2 separate regions of the Homo sapiens genome follow, and region 2 is linked to region 1. Evidence: promoter capture Hi-C in 16 types of primary human blood cells and fetal thymus (Javierre and others, 2016). All regions are on one chromosome and are shown on one strand. The core of a region is centred on a gene start or on the middle of the fragment in contact, and the rest is flanking DNA. Distances in the headings are between cores, read along the strand shown.

Region 1 (5,711 bases), core at 1,023-3,522:
AATGAACAAAAGGAATGTTAAAATTTAATCTTGAAGTGTCAAACACTACTCCCAGTTAAAATCCGATATACTGTAGAATCCTTAAGATTTCCATTTAGCATATATCTCATGCTCTATAAATCTACCCTGGGCAAAGAAGTAGTCAATTTCACTTTCTTAATCATTAGCATCAGCATAAACAACTGGACTTCTCTATACCCTCTACCCCAAGTAAGTTCTGAGGGGTGGGGGGTGAGCATTTTTTTGTCTGTTTTGTGGACTGCACTATTCTCACTGCCTGGCTACATCACAAGTGCTTAACAAACATTTGTAGAATGAATGAATGTACCCACCTCCTAAGAACACACACCCAGCGTGAGGGTAAATATTACCATTTCCAAAACATAAAATTCCAGTGCCTTCTTTCAGATACCGAAGGTCCCAGGCTTCTTGCTGCCTTGGGCCTTTGCTGGGTGCCATTTCCTATTTCTAGAAGGCTCTTCCCATGATCTCCACGTGACTGGCTCCTTCTCCCCAGCAAGGCCTCATCACATGCTAGAGAAACCTTTGTGACCACTCTGATATGAAAGTGAGAACTCACCACTGGTCACTCTTTGTCAATCTAACTTACTGCTTCACAATACTCAAAAGTCGAATTAATCACTGTTTATTATTTATCCCTACACCTCTGGAATACAAACAGGAGCTACTTCTGGAATATAAACAGGAGAGAGATGACCTTGTCATCCTGTGTAATCTACAGTGCCTGGTGCATAGTAAATGCTCAAGGAATGTGAGGGTGCTCTGTCTACATAAGTATCCTCTGCAAAAACTACATTAACTGTATTCTTTGGCCTTAGCTCTTTCATCACTGACCTTTTGTACTACTTGGTTTTAGTTCACAATACCGAGGATTGTTTTTTTCATACTTTCACACATGAAACTTGCAAATTAAATGGAATCACAGCAAACTTCACTCAGACTTACTGTGAATATTTTCTATAATTTACTTTTCAATCATCAGCACTTAAAGTTTGGGGTCATAACCAAAATAAGGATTGATTTTGTTATCAAGAGCAACATAAGTAACATATCTGAGGAAAAATTATGATGTTAATCAGTTAATATGGTATCATATTAACCTCTACAGAAACTGTGAAGTTAAGAGCATAATTCTTAACTAGTCACGAGTCTGAGGCCAACTTCTCAAAGTAGCCTATAAGGCCTGTCCACAACACAAAACACAGTTTAACACCGTTATCAGCCTCTGCCCAGGTGTGCTCAGAGAACCTGCAGAAGAAATGTCCACTTCCAACATTATTAAATAGCACAGCATTTCATAATTACTTTCTTTTCTTCCAGATTCTGGGCAAGTTTTATATATTATATATAATTATAGTCAGAATACAACGATCTGAGGTAAACAAAAATTAACGTATACAGATAAGAGCCAAACAAATGTAAGAAATTTGTGGGAAAAAACACACAGCATTTGATCAGAAATGCAACTTTTTTTCTTTGTCTGAATTTAAAGAAAGTAACTAGAAAACAAGGTGGAGGAAATACTAGAAATATTTTATGTACGTTTAAAGGTTTTTATGTAAATTAATTAAAGGTGTATACTCAAAGAATGTCAAAGTATGTTAAAGTCATCAAGCCAAATTAAAAAAACAATACTACGATCCTCTGAATAAATAAACATACACGGTTCGCCTGCTACAGCCATACATTTTTCAGTTCCTCTATATTCGGGAAGTTTAGTGTGTTTTTCAATCCGTGAGTTGAAAAGAGGAAGAGGTCATTTGGTCGTGTCTGGATTCCTGAGCTGGGCCCCAGCCGGCTCTGGCGCCCTCCCCGGGGTGCGCTCCGCCAGCCGTGCGCCTCCGGAGCTCTGCCCAGGGGACCGCGGCGGGTGCGTGGCTGGGTAGGCCCACCTGACCACAGCCGCGCGCACCCGGAATGCGGAACGCGCCGCGCCCTTGCACCCGGCCGGGGGGCGTGGGGAGCCGCAGGCGCTCCGGGAGCTGGGGCAGTCCCGCCCTTCCTAGCCTCCCGAGTGCCTGCTGCAGAGCGCAGGGCGGCGGCCACCTGACCACGCGCACAAACAAGAAGGCGCAGCAGCCGCAGGGGCACCGCGCCTCCCTGTCGCCCGGCCAGGGAGCCCCCTCCCCAGGGTCCTCTTACCTGGACCTCCACGGCTCCCTCCTACACCTCCGACCGCCGTCACCCACCTACCCCGGAGCCCTCAGCTGCAATTCTCAGCTGATGGGCGGTGGCGTGGGGACGCCCAGTGCGCATGCCCGCAGCACAACTCAGGAAGAAGGCGGGGTTCACCCCTTTTCTATTGGCCCGCGGGGCTGAGTGACAGCGGCCCTCACCGCCCCTCCGGTTCCAAGCTAAGGAATGGGGGTATCAGCAAAATTGCAAGGGAGCTGTTCTTTGAAGCCTGACGTAGAGATGGTGAACGCCTCTTAGCCTGCGTGCAAAAAAGGACAGAATGGAGGACAGTTGTCTTCTTTATCTGGTGAAGCCAGCCTTCTTGCACGCGGGTCTTCACCCCGCCCCATTAGCTCTTGCCTGTCTTGTTTGCTAACCTTTAACTGCAGTAGATCGCGTTGACAGCTCTATCGAAAAATGCAAAGGCGAGTACACAATCCTAGCAGGAACAATGAAGGAATAAGTGAAGAGTCATCTCTGGGTGCTCACTTGTAAACAAGTTTTCCTAGTACATACAAGTCATTCTAAGCATTCCTGAAAAGCAGGGCGTAGTTTTCACAGGGTTTAAAACAAGCAGAGACAGTTCCAATGATAAATATGCAAATATATTGTAATTGTTAGATGAAAAGCATCAATTGCTACAAATGAAAGAAAGCCCTCTCCAAATTAATTAGAAGATAGATTGGCTTAGCCTTTGCCTATATTAAGGCAACACTATTTTCTAAAATGATTACCCGGATAGGTGATATCAAAAGTCCAGACGCACTTAGGTGGAAAAAAACAAAACCCAGGATAGAATTCTGATTGGAACTCACCAACACTAAGTGTGGAATGTTGTCTGCTTAAGAGAGATGGACAGAGAAAGAATAACCCTGAAAACGAGTAACCCACAAGATAGGAAATAAACCAGGAAAAGGTAAACTAGAGAATGAAGGAAAAAAGGAGGGAATTGTCCATGATGTCACCTGTTACACAAAGTTCAAGTAAATAAAGAACTGAAAGTAGTGCATTGTACTTGAGAATTAGGAAGTGGCTGGTGAACGTAGGAAGAAACATTTCAATCATTGAAGGAACACATGAAAGGATCTTACATCCATGTGAGGTTTAGTGCACTTTCCAAATACCCATTCATATTACCTTTGATAGAACTCTGGGCTCCGGGGAGGGAAGGTACAATGCACTACAGAAGAACCTGAGATTAAGTGGCCTCTTCAAGTTACCCTGATAGTTACTGACTATGCTGGGCCCAAAACTTAGCTGTCTGAGCCCTCATCTTGGGCTCATTCCAATTCCTTGTTTTAAAATATGTTATGAGTGGATTCCTTCCAGGTCTTTTGAAAACTTAGAATAAGATTTCATCCTTTGGTATTCAAATGGGAAAAAAAAGAATTATAGTCTAGACAAACTTGCAAAATTTAGAAGTATTAAGATAAATGAATTACTAAGAGTTCCTGACACAGTATTCCATCTGTGAATCTGGCTGCTACCAAGTTAAATTCAGCCAGGTGTCTTGAAAGTGGTAGGGCTTTAAAAGTCTCCTAATTTGATGAGTGATAATGTCACATCTCCCAAAATAAATCATTTCCATGTGCAGAAGTTACCTATGACTGAAAGCTTGTAATTTGGATTTTCAGAAATAGTAATTTGCGAGATTTGGGCCTTCTTGGAGAGATTTTGAAGGAAACCAGAAGTTGTTGAGTGGGGAATGTTATCTGCACACTTGTGGTGTCCTTATTAATATAAATACCATAAATACCTCCTATGTAACATCTCTCATGTAGGATGGAGAACTGTCCACTGCTGTATCTCCAGTGTCTGGGATAGCAATTCCAGGGAATAGAAGGAGATAATTGCTGGTTCATTTAATAGTTACTGAACTAAAAATATTTTTTACATGACCACTATGTGATCTTCTGGGAAAGCCAAAGAAGTAAAAGACGCATAAAGGTAAATAGAGCAAACAGGGACTTATTGGTAAGTGAGAAGGACAAGTTGACTTATGAAGGTTTGTTTTTATTTATAATACAGTGGGAAAACCACAACTGGTTTAAAAAATCTATGCTAGATTAAAAGGAAGCTTAAATTAATACTTAATAAACAAGAGTTAGTTCAGTTGTGCCTTATTGTTAAGCACCTTCCATGTCTCTCTACAGTCTACTTGTTTTCTGTTTAAGATCACACAAGTGCCTAGTCATATATCAAGCACAGAATTGATTTTGCCCTAGCTTTTGAACATGGAGGTAATAAACAGATATCCCGTGGAAATCTTACATGGGCCATTATAGCATGATGACCGGTATATTTGTTTCTAATTTTACCTCCTGATGACTGGTATTTTCGTTTCTAATTTTACCTCCTAAGTGTTGTTCATATGTGCCCTCTTCTCTCTGTCCCTCACGGTTGACATCCTGATCCACTGCAATAGCCTCCTTGTTGGATCTTCTATCTCCAGGTCTTCTCAACTTTATTATTGTCAAAGCCACCACTGAATATTTGAAGCTCTAATCTGAGAACTTTGCTCCAGGCTTCATGCCATTTCCATGATTGCAGCATTCCCTGAACTGTATTTCTTAAGAAAAAAAACCAAAATAATTAGATTGGGGAGAGCTGGGGAATTGTGTGGGTTGAAATAAGGAATCAGGGAATTGGTCTACAAAGAAATGTTTGGGAAACATATTATATTGCATTCTTGAAGATTCACAGAGCATATTTGTAAATTAAAGACGCTGAGAAGTGGTTCAGGAAAGAAACAAGTAAAAATTTCTTTTACCCAGTATTTTATGAGTGTATTTGATGGTGGAACTTGCCTGTAAAACTTTTAAATATGCATAATGGAAAACACTGCTCTCAAAATCAAGTCCAAGCCCCCTGCATATACACAGGGTGACCATATATTTAGTTTGCTAGGACAGCCCTAGTTTATGCTTGTTGTCCTGGCCGCCTGTCTTCTGAGCATGCCCTTTCATTCTCAAACGTGCTTCAGTTCAGATGATGCATCATATGGTCCCTATACATATAAGGACCACATGGTCTGATCCTGCCTTTCCAAGCATCAAAATTTATGCTTGGAATATGTTGGCTTAAATAACTCCTCTTTCTCTGTCTGCTCTCCCCTCCATCCCAGCAGCTAGCTCCCCAGTCACAAACCAGGGGTTTTCTTATTTCTGTGCTTCGCTCACGTAGTTCCCATTAGCTAGAAAACATTTTTTCTTCTCCCCCATGTTTTAAACGATTCTTTATTTTGGAATAATTTTAGATTTATAGAAGAGCTGCAAAGATAGTACAGCACTCCTGTATATACCTCACCCAGGTTCCCCTAATGTTTCCTTAATGTTAACATCTTACATAACCATGGTCCACTTGTCAAAACTAAGAAATCAGCATTGGTATAGCAGTACCAACTAAATTAGCTTGTATTCTCCCTGCTCCAGCTCTAGAATCAGTCATTTTACTATTAAGCACTTCTTCTTTTTATTGGAAAAAGCTATTTAGAAATCAAAGGCCAGGACCACCAG
Region 2 (5,711 bases), core at 935-3,434, 5.2 Mb before region 1:
ACACTTTCACCACCATTTCACTACATTAGAGTCTCTGTCTGAAATACTTAAGGTGGTTTTTGTTTTCCAAAGAGAATCTTGCTTGACAAACTTCTGTGAAAATACTTCAAACTTTTAGGTTATAATTATATTAAACTGATACAGGAAAATGTGACATTGCAAAACATAGTTGCTGCCTTGATGACCTTAAGCAATTTCCTTTATGTGATGGAGTACATTGTTTAAGGGACTATTTTGTTAAAATAATAAGCTAGCTTAAAAAACCTCCACTGTTAAAATACAGCATTTATTCTTATCTTTTAATACTATGGTCAATGAAAGGTTATGTCATTTAATGAAACAAGCATGGACTTTGGAGACATCAGAGCTACTACTGTCAATATAAGACATCTAAAAATTAATAAATACATATTATATACATACAACCAGGTTAGGAAATAAATGCATCGTTGACTTTATAGTCAAACTATAAAGTTTAACTCAGTGACTCTTGGGGCTATTTTCTAGCCATACATTATCCTAATTCAGTTGTAATGTCTGTGGGCAACGCAGGAACATTAAGAACCATTAGAAGAGAAAGCATTGATAATCACAGTAGGTAAAAGAAAAACACAAGCTAAACTGGCTAGTGTACTATTATTTGCAAAGGAGTTCTACTAGAAAATAATATACTGTTTGATTACTGTAAGTAGAACATCAAATGATAGGACAGAAACCAACCTATGTATCAGCTCTGGAAACAAAGTTTTTAATTAAAATAAACAAAGTTTGCTTTCCAAAGCTTCCTCTTGGTTTGATTTCCATTCATCTGCTAGCTATAATGACTGGTACATTCCTGAATCTGGTTTGTTCTGTTTCCAGGCATATGAGAAAGTTGTGTCCACAGCTATCAGATGGTTGCCGGCATGTGAAAAGGGAAGAAATTTAACTTAGAGTTGGTAAGCAAAATAGCCCCAGACAAGCATTCTTATTTGGTCTCAGGACCCTTTGACAGTGCTAATTTATAGAAGACCCCAAAAAACTTTTATGAGCTAATCAATATTTACCAAATTAAAAGTTGAAATTGAGAATGGTTTACAATATATACTAATTCATTTAAAAATGACTCATTGTATTAACATACTTTATTAAAAAAAAAAACACTACATTTTCCAAAACAAAGCTAACTGAATGAAAGAAGAGTGCAGTTTTACTTTTTTTTTTTTTTTACATCGTTTTAATGACTGGTTTAATAGATATAGTCAAATTCTCATATCTGCTTCTATAATCAATCTATTGCTACATCACATACCATGTAGCTTCTGGAAAACTCCACTGTACATTTGAGAGTGCAAGTAAACAAAGCAACTAGAGTCTTAGTATTATTATAAGAACAATTTTCCCTCAGACACTCTGCAAGAGTCAAAGGACCCCTATGGGTCACTAGATAACACTTGGAACACCGCCGCCCTAAACTAGCCACGAGTGGTTTCAACGTACATTCTATTGTAACACATCATTTTCTCATGCATTTTCATGGATGTCTTCAGATATTAAGTAAACAAAAAAAAATGCTTTGATCCTTAAGTAAAACAAATAACATTGGACAATTTTTGAGTGTTGGAAGGATAAATGGAGAAGAGTAGGTGCCTGGAGATGTGTGGTATTCAGCAAAGTATTTTGTAAGTTGTGGGAAATAGACAATAAGCTATAAGCAAACAGGCAACTGGGTAATTCCTAGCAGTCAGCTGCAACTTCTTTACCTTTGATTCAATGAAGCAAAATGGAATCCCAGTGACAGTAACATTATTACAGAAATACATTGAAACTGTTAGGCTCTGATTTATTTAAGCAAATAATTTGAAGTTTTGGTACTTAAAATTACTGGAAACCAGTTACTCTTAATTACTGGAAACCAGCACTCTGACAATGTTGAGAGGTGCTGTCCTGTGTTATTCAAAGATATAAACTTCTATCTTTCTTTCAAGTGGCTGATGGAGGTAGGGTGTATAGTATTCCATGCATTCAATTCTGCTTTTCATATGCAACTACTGAAAAATGAGAAGTTCACTTTTATTCATATATATATACAAATGGGGATATATTCATATATATATATAAATGGAGATATATATATATTCATATATATATATAAATGGGGATATATATACACACTCACATACACAAATGTGGTTTTTGGGGTTTTTTTGAGACGGAGTCTTGCTCTGTTGCAGTGCAGGCTGGAGTGCAGTGACACGATCTCGGGCAACTTCCGCCTCCCAGGTTCAAGCGATTCTCCTGCCTCAGCCTCCCGAGTAGCTGGGATTACAGGCGCGTGCCACCATGCCCAGCTAATTTTTTTGTGTTTTTAGTAGAGACAGGGTTTCACTGTGTTAGCCACGGTGGTCTTGATCTACTGACCTCGTGATCCGCCCACTTCGGCCTCCTAAAGTCCTGGGATTACAGGCGTGAGCTACTGCCCGGCCATGTGTGTATTCATTCATTCATTCATTCATTTACTCATTCATGTAACACATATTTACAGAGAACCTCTTTAAGTGTGTCAGGCACTATTCCTGGCAGTTGAGATACAAAACAGAACACACATTCCTGGCCTCCTGTGTCTTGCGTCCTAATGTGATGAGAAATATGATGAAGATTAGTAAGTAAAATAAATTATCCATTACACTGTGATAAGTATTAAAAAGTAAAGGAGGAAATATGAAATATTGGGAATGGAAACATCATGACTTAAAATATGCTGACAAGTAGAGGGACTGACTGAAGAGTTGGACATCTGAGCACATATGGAGGGAGCATGATGGGGAAGAGTGTTCTAAGCAGAGGAAACCACAACTGCAAAGACTATGAGGTTGGCAGCTTGTGGAGAGCTTTCTGGGAATACAAAGCTGGGTAAACAGTCTGTGGGGTCAAAGAGGTAATGAGGGGAGGATTTTAAAGCCATCGTTAGGACTTTGGTTTTTACTTGTGTTGGGAAGCCACAGGAGACTTTGAGCAAAGGAGTGGTACGATCTCACTTCTTTTTAAGTAGATTTATTTAGGATTCTGTATTAAGGATAGAGTCAAAAGACTAGTTCCTGGTCTACCGTAACACTATAATCCAAACAAGAGATGATGCAGATTGTAGCGGAGGTGGTAAGTAGTTGGATATACTTTGAAGGAAGAGCCAACAGGTTATATGCCAAATGCATATAAGACATAAAAGAGAGGAGTTAAAGGTGGGTTTGAACAAGGAAAGATGCAACCATTTACTGAAATACAAAGACCTTGGGTATGAGTGAGAAGGGGTTGAACTAGCTGACATCTTACAGTCTGTGCCTGGATTCAAATCTCAGCTGTGTGTGTCTCTCTCTCTGTAAAATGGGAATAATAATAGTGCCTACCTCATAGTTTATTATGAGAATTAAGTGGGTATATATGAATAAAGCACTTAGAGCAACACCTGGCACATTGTTAGTTAATATTAGCATTACCTCTTCAAGCTGGAATCTTCGAGTACATATCAAATTTTAGCTATTCTCTGTTCATGGGCTGTGTAGGATAGAGGGACAAAACTGAGTGGCTAATAAGAAGATAAAGATAGAAAACTAAGCTTAAAGTTAAAGGATATACACTTCAATATTTCTACATGTATGGAACAGTATTGCATACACGCGCAAGCATCACTGAACTAGATGCACCCTTCAAGAGATTGGGTTACATATTGATATATATGAATGAGAACCCTGAAATAAACTGATTTCAGAGGAATAACAGAAAACATATACATTTCTATACCTATAAGGACACTGAAAACTTCCAATCCTGAATCAAACAGTTAATGAAATCCCAAAATGCAACACTAATGCAAATGAGAAGACGCTGTCATAGAATGTTGAAATACATACTCTTCTAAAGATAAAAGGTCTGCTCTTCCACCCTCTTCATTTTCCTACAAATTAGGAAAATTTAATCAGTTCTGAAAAAGGAAATGTACATGCTAAAATGGTGAATTACTGCTAGAGTTCTGATGTTTAAAACCACAGGCTTGCGATCAAAATAACCTCTTTAATTTTAGATTATCATGCAGATTAATTTCTTCAGTTTCTCAGGCACTATTCTGTTTTTTTTAAAAAAAGGGTGGGGTTTCAAAAGAAAACTAATACTCATTTTTTCCCCGATTAAATTGCTCAACCATTAAAAAGGAGAACAAATTGGAAAGTCCTACAGTACTCTCTCCCCTCCGTCCCCCCCCTCCCCATTTTTTTTCTTGAAAGGGAACAAGCAGTACTTTTGCTAAGGGATCTTTAAGCCGAAACTCAGCTAGGCGCCCCAGAGCTTCCTCAGGATAGCAAAGCTGGATTTTTGAGCAGCACCACCTGCTGGTCCTACACACGTTTTACTTCCTCCACCCCAAATCTCTTTCTGTTGGAACTGCACTCTTTCAGAGCCTCTGGGCCCTAATACAAAGCAAGCACACTCTAAAGAAGCCAGAAGAATGCAAGCAGCGAAGTCGCCGCTCCCCACAGGCAAGAGAGTACCGGCAGACAGCGGCGCGAGACAGGGGCAGAACGATGAGGCGCCGGAGTTAGCTCGCCGGTGCGGGTGCGGGTGCGCGGCGCGTCGCGGCCCCTCCTCCGCGACGCGCCGGGTGGTCACGTGACGGCCGCGCGCGTTCCCGGCAGCTGCGGGCTCCGAGGCCAGAGAGAAAAGACTGCGAGGTGGCCGCAGCTGTGGCCGGAGAGGTGGGAGTCGGAGCGAGGCCCTCTCGGGGGAGCAGGGTGAACGCCGGCCACTCTAGGATCCTCACTCGGGGAGAGGAGGCATAGCTCGCGGTGTCACCTCCAGCCGCAACGTACTCCGGGTCGGCCTTGCGCTCGGGGCCTGAGAGGGGCGGCGGCGGGGTCAGGGGCCGGTACGTAGATGGACGCCCTTGGGCTGGCGCGGCCCCGGCTGTCCGCGCAGAGGCGGGATGGGACAGTTCAGCCCTTTCCGCCACCCCCGCCTTGGCTGCTGGGGCAGGCAAGACGACCGTGACAGCCCCTGCGCTGCCCGAGGGCGCCGCAGCCCCTGCCCTGGGTGACGGCCGGAGCTGGTCTCGGTCCGGGTGCGAGGGGCGGAGCAGCGGCCATTACTGCGCAGCCTCTTCCGCCTGAGCCCGCTTCGCTGCCTCGGGTGGCAGGCGGGTCCCTCTCCTCCCCTCTGGGCCGTGGTTTTAGGCCTTTACCCGGGGACCTTCTGGCCTCGAGGTGTAGGGGCGGCGATGGTTTTTCGGCGGTAGCCTGCTCCATGTTTTCCCGTGTGGGGTCAGACAGTTTGGGCCTTGGGTCAGATCGAAGCCAGGGCGTACAGTCTGCATTTTTGCCTTTTCCCGGAGTGTCTCTGGCTGCTGCTTTCTCTTCTCTCGCTCTTCCTCCTTTTTTTTCTCCTGCTCAGTGTCTCGGTCTTGCCTAAAACGAAGAGAGCAATCCCTGCACCTTGTCCTAGTGAAGCCCAGCGCTGCATATTCTTAGTTGTTTTTGACGGCTGTTGAAGCATCGGAACAATTAAGAGATCTCAGAATATCCCTTGAGCCTCCAAACCCTCTGCATCTTAAAAGCTGAGGCTGTTGCTTTGTTCTGATTGTTGGGTGGGGAGTTCTCTTCCTACCCTCCATCCCGTCTGAAGGAGTGTGGGTCTTCCATTGTTGTCGCTATTTATTTTGCTAAGGCTTCTAAAGAATGTAAAATTGT

What was found. Contacts are between HindIII fragments. The CHiCAGO score rates a contact against its expected background, and 5 or more counts as called.
Region 2: a fragment that was not itself captured here is called in contact with the fragment with the promoter of STX7 in region 1 in 1 of 17 cell types (non-activated CD4 T cells); the score reaches 6.2 in non-activated CD4 T cells.

What each region holds. Positions count from the first base shown.
Region 1 is chr6:132,510,844-132,516,554 of GRCh38, forward strand. It overlaps STX7 (syntaxin 7), which reads right to left and starts at 2,273. Exons shown (of 10, transcript NM_003569.3): 1 at 2,164-2,273. RefSeq lists enhancers at 1,521-2,022, 2,380-2,579 and a silencer at 1,740-2,229. The HindIII fragment of the contact is 4,830 bases long and covers 1-3,808 here.
Region 2 is chr6:127,262,202-127,267,912 of GRCh38, forward strand. RNF146 (ring finger protein 146) reads left to right here and starts at 4,663. Exons shown (of 3, transcript NM_001242850.2): 1 at 4,663-4,724. RefSeq lists silencers at 4,622-4,721, 4,822-5,091 and an enhancer at 5,292-5,351. The HindIII fragment of the contact is 2,811 bases long and covers 780-3,590 here.